3 separate regions of the Homo sapiens genome follow, and regions 1 and 2 are each linked to region 3. Evidence: promoter capture Hi-C in 16 types of primary human blood cells and fetal thymus (Javierre and others, 2016). All regions are on one chromosome and are shown on one strand. Each heading gives the region's core, a stretch centred on a gene start or on the middle of the fragment in contact. The rest is flanking DNA. Distances are from core to core; before and after follow the strand shown. Region 1 holds the start of TSC22D1 (TSC22 domain family member 1). Region 2 holds the start of GTF2F2 (general transcription factor IIF subunit 2). Region 3 holds the start of LRRC63 (leucine rich repeat containing 63).

Region 1 (2,700 bases), core at 163-2,662, 1.6 Mb after region 3:
CCCGCGCGCGCCGGCCGCGAGTGTGAAAAGAGCGGACACACCTAACCTGGGCGCGCGGCAGGCGCGCACCCTGCCCGCCCCCACCGGGCCGAATCACGCAGTCCGACCCGGATTCGCTCCTTCGGCCGGAATTCCCCACCCCCACTATCCCCTCCGGCTCCACCACTCCCGGCTTCGGCGCCTCTGCCAGCCTTCGGTAATTTCCGTCGGGAGACCTGGCGCTCGCCTAGGCCCGAAGACCCGCCGCCTCCTGCCCCGCCAGACCCGGCTTTATGTCTGCGGCGCCGAGGCGCATGCGCAGACGCCATCTTCCCTCCTCCTCCTCCGCCTGCCCCCTCCCCCCAGCCACCACCGCCTCCTCTCGCCGGCGGTCGCCCCTCCTCCTCCTGCGCTCCGCGCTGGTCCCTCCCCTCCCGATGCCGCGAGAGACTGGGGGATACGGTGGAGCCGGGGGAGCCGAAGAAGAGCACTAGTAACAACCACCACAGCCCCCTCCCCGCCCGACACCCTCCCTCGGCACCCACTCACTCCCCCGCCCCGTTTGCCGACACCGACCAACCCCACCTCGTTCCTTTGAACGGCGTCGGCTGCAGTCGCTGCACCAGCCCGTCTGGCCACCAACGCCGCGGAGAAAGGAGCCGCCGCCGCCTGCGGCCCTCTCCCGCCCGGTCGCGGGAGCAGCGGGGTGAGGAAGAGCCGGCTGCGGAGGAAGAGGATAAGAGAGGGTCGCACCCTCCGCCCTAGCGCACGTCCCGCCGCCCTCCGGAGAGGCTCGGGTGCCGGCCCCTTCCTCCCCGAGGACGTGTGCCGAGTCGAGGCGCCTGCCCTGAGGGAGGAAAATGCTCGGGCTCCATGGCTGCCAGTGATGGAGCGGTCCCTGGGCTCCCGCTGCCACCGCCGCCGCCGCGCCCCGGCCGTGCTCCGCGAGGACCCGGCGTCTCTGCGCGCCCGCCCGCGCCTCGTTGCTGGGCTCACCGTACCGGGCGCCTCGCCGCCGCCCCGCTCGCAGCCGCGTCGCCCCGGCCCCAGCCGCGGCCAGCGTTTCCTCACCGAGCAGCCGCCGCGAGCCCAGGGGGTTTGAAAGGGTCTGCGGGGCGCGGGGGGAGGGCCGAGCGGGGCCGGGAGGGGAGGTTTGAGCGACACTGAGCTCGGGGCTCGCTGGCGGCGGCGGCGGCCCCGGGGGTGGCGAGGGGAAGGCGACATTTGCTTGGCGCTGCCTCCGTGCAGAGCGGCCGGGAGGGCTTTGCAGCGGCCGCCGACGCGGCGGGAGGAGGGGGCTGAGGCGGCTTCGGAGTTGGCCGGAGAAGGTGGGCATTTCTCGCTTTTCCTCCCCTTCCTGCGCTCTCCCCCTCCCTCCTGCCCCGCACCCCACGTGAAGCAGAATATAAAGGGGGGTGTGAGGCTAGAGGGGAAAGTGAATGGCGAAGGACTGAAGGGATCCCCCCTTCGGGTCCCCGGCCGCCCTGTTCACCCTCGTTCATCCTCCTTTCCGAAGCTCGCTCTCGAAGGCAGGAGCGACCGGCGCCTTTGGCTGAGGAGGAGGAGAAGGAGGAATCGCGCCAGGCGGAGCGTCAGGTCCCGTTTTCCTCTCCGGCGTCTCCAATACAAAGATTACGGTGCAGAAGGAAATTGCACTCGTCTCCTCCGCGCCCCCGGTACCCAACACAATGCACCAGCCGCCTGAGTCCACCGCCGCGGCCGCCGCCGCTGCAGACATTAGCGCTAGGAAGATGGCGCACCCGGCAATGTTCCCTCGAAGGGGCAGCGGTAGTGGCAGCGCCTCTGCTCTCAATGCAGCAGGTACCGGCGTCGGTAGTAATGCCACATCTTCCGAGGATTTTCCGCCTCCGTCGCTGCTTCAGCCGCCGCCCCCTGCAGCATCTTCTACGTCGGGACCACAGCCTCCGCCTCCACAAAGCCTGAACCTCCTTTCGCAGGCTCAGCTGCAGGCACAGCCTCTTGCGCCAGGCGGAACTCAAATGAAAAAGAAAAGTGGCTTCCAGATAACTAGCGTTACTCCTGCTCAGATCTCCGCTAGTATCAGCTCTAACAACAGTATAGCAGAGGACACTGAGAGCTATGATGATCTGGATGAATCTCACACGGAAGATCTCTCTTCTTCGGAGATCCTTGATGTGTCACTTTCCAGGGCTACTGACTTAGGGGAGCCCGAACGCAGCTCCTCAGAAGAGACCCTAAATAACTTCCAGGAAGCCGAGACACCTGGGGCAGTCTCTCCCAACCAGCCCCACCTTCCTCAGCCTCATTTGCCTCACCTTCCACAACAGAATGTTGTGATCAATGGGAATGCTCATCCACACCACCTCCATCACCACCATCAGATTCATCATGGGCACCACCTCCAACATGGTCACCACCATCCATCTCATGTTGCTGTGGCCAGTGCATCCATTACTGGTGGGCCACCCTCAAGCCCAGTATCTAGAAAACTCTCTACAACTGGAAGCTCTGACAGTATCACACCAGTTGCACCAACTTCTGCTGTATCATCCAGTGGTTCACCTGCATCTGTAATGACTAATATGCGTGCTCCAAGTACTACAGGTGGAATAGGTATAAATTCTGTTACTGGCACTAGTACAGTAAATAATGTTAACATTACTGCTGTGGGTAGTTTTAATCCTAATGTGACAAGCAGCATGCTTGGTAATGTTAATATAAGTACAAGCAATATTCCTA
Region 2 (2,700 bases), core at 112-2,611, 1.1 Mb after region 3:
GAGAAATGCCTATTTAATCCATCCTTTTAAGTCACACTGAGTTTGGAAATAAGTCAAATGAGTGCCACAGACTAAGGCGAGGGCTGAAGAATGAGAGGTCATGCATTTATTCATCATCTATTTGTTGAGTAATTACCATGCGCCAAACACTATTCTGGGTATGACAGGCAAAGATCCTGTTCTCATGGAATGTGATTCTGTGTGTTGGAAAGACAGAGGTAACCAACTTTGAACATATGAACACAAAATCACTCTACACTGTGAAAAGTGCTTTGAAGAATGTAATACACATCTGTCGTGTTAGCAAATGATCACAAGGGGGCTGTTTTAGGAAGGCCGACAAGAAAGACCTCTTAGATTTAATTGACGAGAACTCAGCCATGTGATAAAACAGTTAAAGCATTAAGAAACCAAAAGTCCTTACATTTTAAGTTTCAACGACTTTCAGGATCACATTTTGAATATGCTTAAGTATTATGAAACTCCCCTAGGAGAAAACACTCCCCAATATGAAACAATAAAGCACAAATAGTGCTTACTGTGAGCTAACCAAAATTGCTGTCTTCACATAAAACGTTTATTGACGGCCAGTTTCACGAGACCCAAATGTGCTCTAAAAGAATACTCCAGTCCAATGACCTCTCCTTCTGTGAGTTTGGGGCTCTCTCGCCTCTTTTGAGAGCTTCATTAAGGACCATCAACCTAAGAGAACACTTTTAAGAGTAGGCAGGGACCAGTCCTACTTTCTGGCCGAGAAAACTGTACAGAAAGTAGACATTCAACTACCTCACGCAGGCTCATGGCTAAAACCAGTTTCACCAAGGGAAGATACAAGGAATTCTTCAGTCTGGGATAAAATGCACCGTCCAAATCTGGGGACACCAAGACAAGATTCCAGGAAAGCCGTGAGAAAGAGATCTAGTCCAGGCAGATTCAGAGTAGTAACTGGCTGAAAGACACTTTGCGTCCCTAAACTAATTCCTCGTCTGCAAACAGATACAACAATGACTCCTGCCTCTCAAAATGTGTGAAGCTCTAACGAGATAGCCGTAAAAGAACTTTAAGAGGCGCACGGAGCGGGATAGGCTCAAGTTACTTAAACTATACTTGTGTTAGGAGGAGCGCAAGTGGGAGACTCGCGAACATTACCTTGACTAGCCACACTCCTGTGTTCTGTTTGGCGCCGGTCAAGTCGAGTTCCCCGCGCTCGGCCATGGGTCTGCAGCCGGTGGAGGCGTGCGGGATGCAGCAGCGACCCCAGGAGCCGCAGGGCTGAGGAGCGGGCGTCCGGAACAAAGGACAAGCCGCGCTGAGAGGCGAAGAGCCGGCGTTCCTTACCTGCCAGAACACTGGGAACCGAGGAAAAGAGGAACACGCCGCCAGGAGCCGGGACTGCGCCTGCGCACTGCTACGTCAGTACGGCGCGCTGTTGCAGACAAACTTTCTGTTTCGGAAATTTCTTGAGTGGGCGTGGCTGTCCGCGATGTCTGCATCTGAGGGATTAAAACGTAGGGTGGGATGAGCTAAAACGTTAGCAATGTATTTAAAGACATGGTCAGCATAACTGAAGAAAAAGATTATCAGAACGGAAAAATGGGGTTCAAAGAGACGAAAGGTGTCAGAACATGTCCAACCCTAGCCAAGGAGAGAGAGACAATATTTGAAGGACAGGGTCAGGGTAGTAAATTGGCGTCCCTGGCCAACGTCATTAGCACAAATGGGCACTGGGATCAAACTTAGTAGCCTTGGGTATATTGAAAACATGCCGTTTCTAGACCTGGAAAAAAAAAAGCCGTGTTTCAGCTCAGAGGCTACCCGAGCTGTTCTGATGAAGCAAGCGGAGCACCTCAGTTTCCAAAACCCGGAAGTCTGTAACGAAACGAACAAGTAAGAGACAAACCTGATCGTTTCCTCCCCTGCTTAAACAGTTTTCTCTTTCTCTTATTGCCTCTAGAATAAAGTTCAATCCTCCTGCTTCAACTGGGCCCTCTCAATTTCATCTCTTTGCACCTCCCACCATCACTCCGCCATGCACCAAACCACATCAAACCCAGCAGACTTCCCTAAACACGTCAGAATCTTCGTCGGTCATTTCAGAGCCTCTGCACACTGGATTCCCTTCCCTTGGAAGCCCTATTTTACCCCTGCCCTCACTCTCACCCCTGTGCTCTGGTTGGCAAACTCCTACTTATGGTTCAAGACCAATGAAAATGTCACTTCCTATGAGATCTTTTATCAACTTCCCCAGAAGAAATTAGTTTTTCTTCACATCACAGTGTGATACTTAGCACTCTGAACTATAATATATATGTTTACATATCTGCCTTTGCTTTCCAGACAATGAACTCCTCCTAGGCGGAAAGAGCTTTATTGAGGTATAATTGACAAATAAAAAATAGTGCTTTATTCATTTTATATCCACAATGTCTAGCACAGTGTTTAACACATTGTCAGGTTTCAGTAGGCTTTGGGTGAAAGAACATTCGCTGAAGAGAAACAAACAGTAAGGTATTGTTAAGAATGGCAAGTAATTTATTGAATCACACATCAGAGCCTTGCACAAAATTGAGGAAATTTTATGTGTGTTCAGCATAGGGCCAGGAAAAGCTGTCAGAACTCTGCTTTTAGCTAGGAAAACTAATAGGAAAGATGGGAGAGACCAGGAGTGTGTTGAAGATGAAAGTTTCAGGCTAGGCTCAG
Region 3 (2,768 bases), core at 225-2,724:
TTCAGTGCTCTGCACATATCCACGCATGACTGAGAAAGCCCTTTGAGTACCAATTCTGGGGTTACAAGTAAATTTTATCGATGAGATAAACTTGAATCTACTAAGTCCACCAATAAGTATCAGTAAATGCATCTGTGGAATTGAATTGGATGTTATCACCTGACAACAAACATTTGTAAGTTATTAGTGAGTGTATTTATTGTGATTCTGAGCTGTGCAAGTCAAGGAATTTCTATGAAAGATACATAAATGTTAATACACATATCTGATTAATACACATACCTGTATGGGTTTTTTTCTCATGTAAAGACAGCTTAGTGAATTTTGGAGGTAAGGGTCTTCGAAGAAGCAGTGGGGGCTTTTGCATTTTAATGAATAATAAGTGCTGTTTTTCATAATCCTTGGTTTAAATGAGAATTGAAAAGGTTTTGAATATGTTTGAATTGTTGAAAAATAATAAGAATTTAGATTACATCTTAAAGAAAATCATTCTGTACCAATACTCTACTGAATCCAGGCAGAATTCCTTTATGAAAAAAAAAGAGGGTAAGAAAATAATTCTTTAAAACTTCTATTAATAGAAAGAATCCAGTTAAAATGTAGGGTTATAAGTAAACATAGAATTTTAAAAATATGTGTATTATTACTACCCAGGATCATTCTACAATTTTCCATGTTAGTACAAAGTTCAATTTGCCAATGCTATTTCAACTAGTAAATACTGATTTTTCAGAATAGTCGAAATGACATTTTTTTTCTCTCTCTCCAAAATGTTATCGCTATAAATGTAGAAAGAGAATTTGGTCAGAAATGTGTAGAAGATGCCTTCATTAGATAAGCCTCTGAAGACCCACCATATCTAACCATTCACAAACAAATTGTTTTCTTTCTATAATGGCTTGTTTTTCAACCACTATGCTTGGGCCAAAACAATTCAATCCTAAAATAAGATGGGTTTCACTATAATGAGATTTCCCAGGGCTGCTGGATCCCAACTCATACTGTTTAGAAATAATGCGAGAAGATGCACCCCCAAAATGTGCTTTTAGTTTGCAGGGCAACATCAAAAGTGCCTGGCACGGCATTATTCCATTGATAGCCTAGAAGGGAACACCCTGAAACTGCACAAATGGGCCGTTTACCGCCAAAAGATAACTGCACACAAGCGCTCAAGGTGTACTCCCTGGTCATATGTTCCACACGATGCTGGAAATCTCCCTTCCGTAGTACCCAAAGAGGGGCATGGAAGTGCTGGACTCCCACACTACCCTTTAGGATAATCGGCCGCTTTCCAAACCAACTGGCTTTTCGTCTCCTATCTCCTTTTCCTCGGAATCTAGGCAGCGAGGTAAAGGTCCAGCGAGGGTCTTCCTGCAGGAGGCTGTTCCCGAAGAAGCACCACGGATCCCCACCCTCTAGGAGGCCAAGGAGACACACCCTAGCAACCGGGGTCCGCTAAGCCAGCCCAGCCACTTGACGCGCAGGCGCGGGGGCGGGACAGGCGAGGCGGGCGCGGGACAGGCGAGGCGAGGCGGGCGCCGGGAGGGGCAGGCCCAGCCCACGGTGCAGCGCGCGCGGAGCCCTCGCCTTCCTCCGACGCACTGTGGGGCTGCAGGGGAAGCTGCGGGCCGTGGGGGCCGGAGGAGAAGCCGGCTCCACGCGCAGCTGCTGTACGGAACGCCGTGGTGACAATTGTTATTACTATTTTTATGCTTAATGGCAATGACCACTATTATTTATTATTTTCTCTCGATTACAGGATGCTTTACTTGGGTGTCTAGAATATGGGCTGGCATTCTTTAAGGCTGCACTTTTGTGCAGCCGGGTCCCGGGGCTAATTTTGCAGTGCTCTCGAAAAGCGGGCATTCGGTTTTCTTTCTCTTCCTTTCATGCAACCTGTTTTCTCTTTCTGATCCTTTAAAGTTCCTGGCTGAGGCTGGATTGTGTAGAAATAAGGGCATTAGGGATCCAAGCGGGCCATAAAAGAAACCCATTTCTCACTGTCATCGTCCTCTGTTCTGGTTATCATATTGTGACGTGTCGCCTCTGTCATGGTGTTGATGAACCTGTGTGTGCAGTCATAGATACATCGTGTGTGTTTGCAAAAATGTGCGTGTTTCTCTGGAGATTTGAGGGGGAAAGAGCACTAGAAAGAGCTCATCTGATAGATGCGGAAATCCGAACTCAGAAAGTAAACTAGGTAGAGCTTCCTTCCAGGTTTGGTTTTTTCTAAGTACTAGCGCAGGAACTTTATAACAGAAGTTGGAAAATGAGAGACTTCTGTATAAATCTTTCTAGCTTTGGGGATCTTTCAAGATTCACACCATAACCATGTCTTCCTTTTTCTCCTTAGTAGCAAACATGTTTTAAAACAATCAATGAAAAAAGTAGAAAAGTTTTAACAAAAAAGTAATCAGACTCTGGAAAATATTATGCAACTTGTTTTCCTTTACAGTAGTAGTGTACTGTTTCTTTTCCTTGTAAGTTTACTGTGTCCCAATTATACTGCTGCCCCAGACTATGAATTTATTTCCACTTTTGCTGTTATCTACACCATAGATTCATTAGTTTCTCAGAAATACAAAGCTGAAAATAAAAGGCAGCTCTGTGGCTAAGATTAGTCTCAAGTAATATATATCGTGCATATTTTGTAAATGTGAAAAAAGGTTTATATTTTTAAGCATAAAAAATGACAGTGTAAATTGAGTCAGGTACCTATGCTCTTCAAGATCGTTGGAACCATGAGAACTACAGGAATTCAGTTTTAC

What was found. The method cuts DNA at HindIII sites, captures the fragments that hold promoters and counts their contacts. A CHiCAGO score of 5 or more calls a contact.
Region 1: the fragment with the promoter of TSC22D1 here is called in contact with the fragment with the promoter of LRRC63 in region 3 in 1 of 17 cell types (total CD8 T cells); the score reaches 6.5 in total CD8 T cells.
Region 2: a contact is called between the fragment with the promoter of GTF2F2 here and the fragment with the promoter of LRRC63 in region 3, in 1 of 17 cell types (naive CD8 T cells). The highest score is 10.1, in naive CD8 T cells.

Annotation. Positions count from the first base shown.
Region 1 is chr13:44,575,042-44,577,741 of GRCh38, reverse strand. TSC22D1 (TSC22 domain family member 1) reads left to right here and starts at 1,412. Exons shown (of 3, transcript NM_183422.4): 1 at 1,412-2,700. The coding sequence starts at 1,668. It overlaps TSC22D1-AS1 (TSC22D1 antisense RNA 1), which reads right to left and starts at 1,846. Exons shown (of 3, transcript NR_038381.1): 1 at 1,472-1,846; 2 at 565-700. RefSeq lists silencers at 1-149, 420-659, 670-1,379 and an enhancer at 1,700-1,939. The HindIII fragment of the contact is 6,017 bases long and covers 1-2,700 here.
Region 2 is chr13:45,119,171-45,121,870 of GRCh38, reverse strand. It overlaps GTF2F2 (general transcription factor IIF subunit 2), which reads right to left and starts at 1,361. Exons shown (of 8, transcript NM_004128.3): 1 at 1,150-1,361. The coding sequence starts at 1,215. RefSeq lists enhancers at 446-1,087, 1,198-1,327, 1,088-1,731. The HindIII fragment of the contact is 3,497 bases long and covers 1-2,700 here.
Region 3 is chr13:46,210,634-46,213,401 of GRCh38, reverse strand. LRRC63 (leucine rich repeat containing 63) reads right to left here and starts at 1,474. Exons shown (of 10, transcript NM_001282460.2): 1 at 1,143-1,474; 2 at 283-400. The coding sequence starts at 367. It overlaps LOC107984578 (a long non-coding RNA gene), which reads left to right and starts at 1,550. Exons shown (of 4, transcript XR_001749863.3): 1 at 1,550-2,768. RefSeq lists a silencer at 1,389-1,718. The HindIII fragment of the contact is 5,320 bases long and covers 1-2,768 here.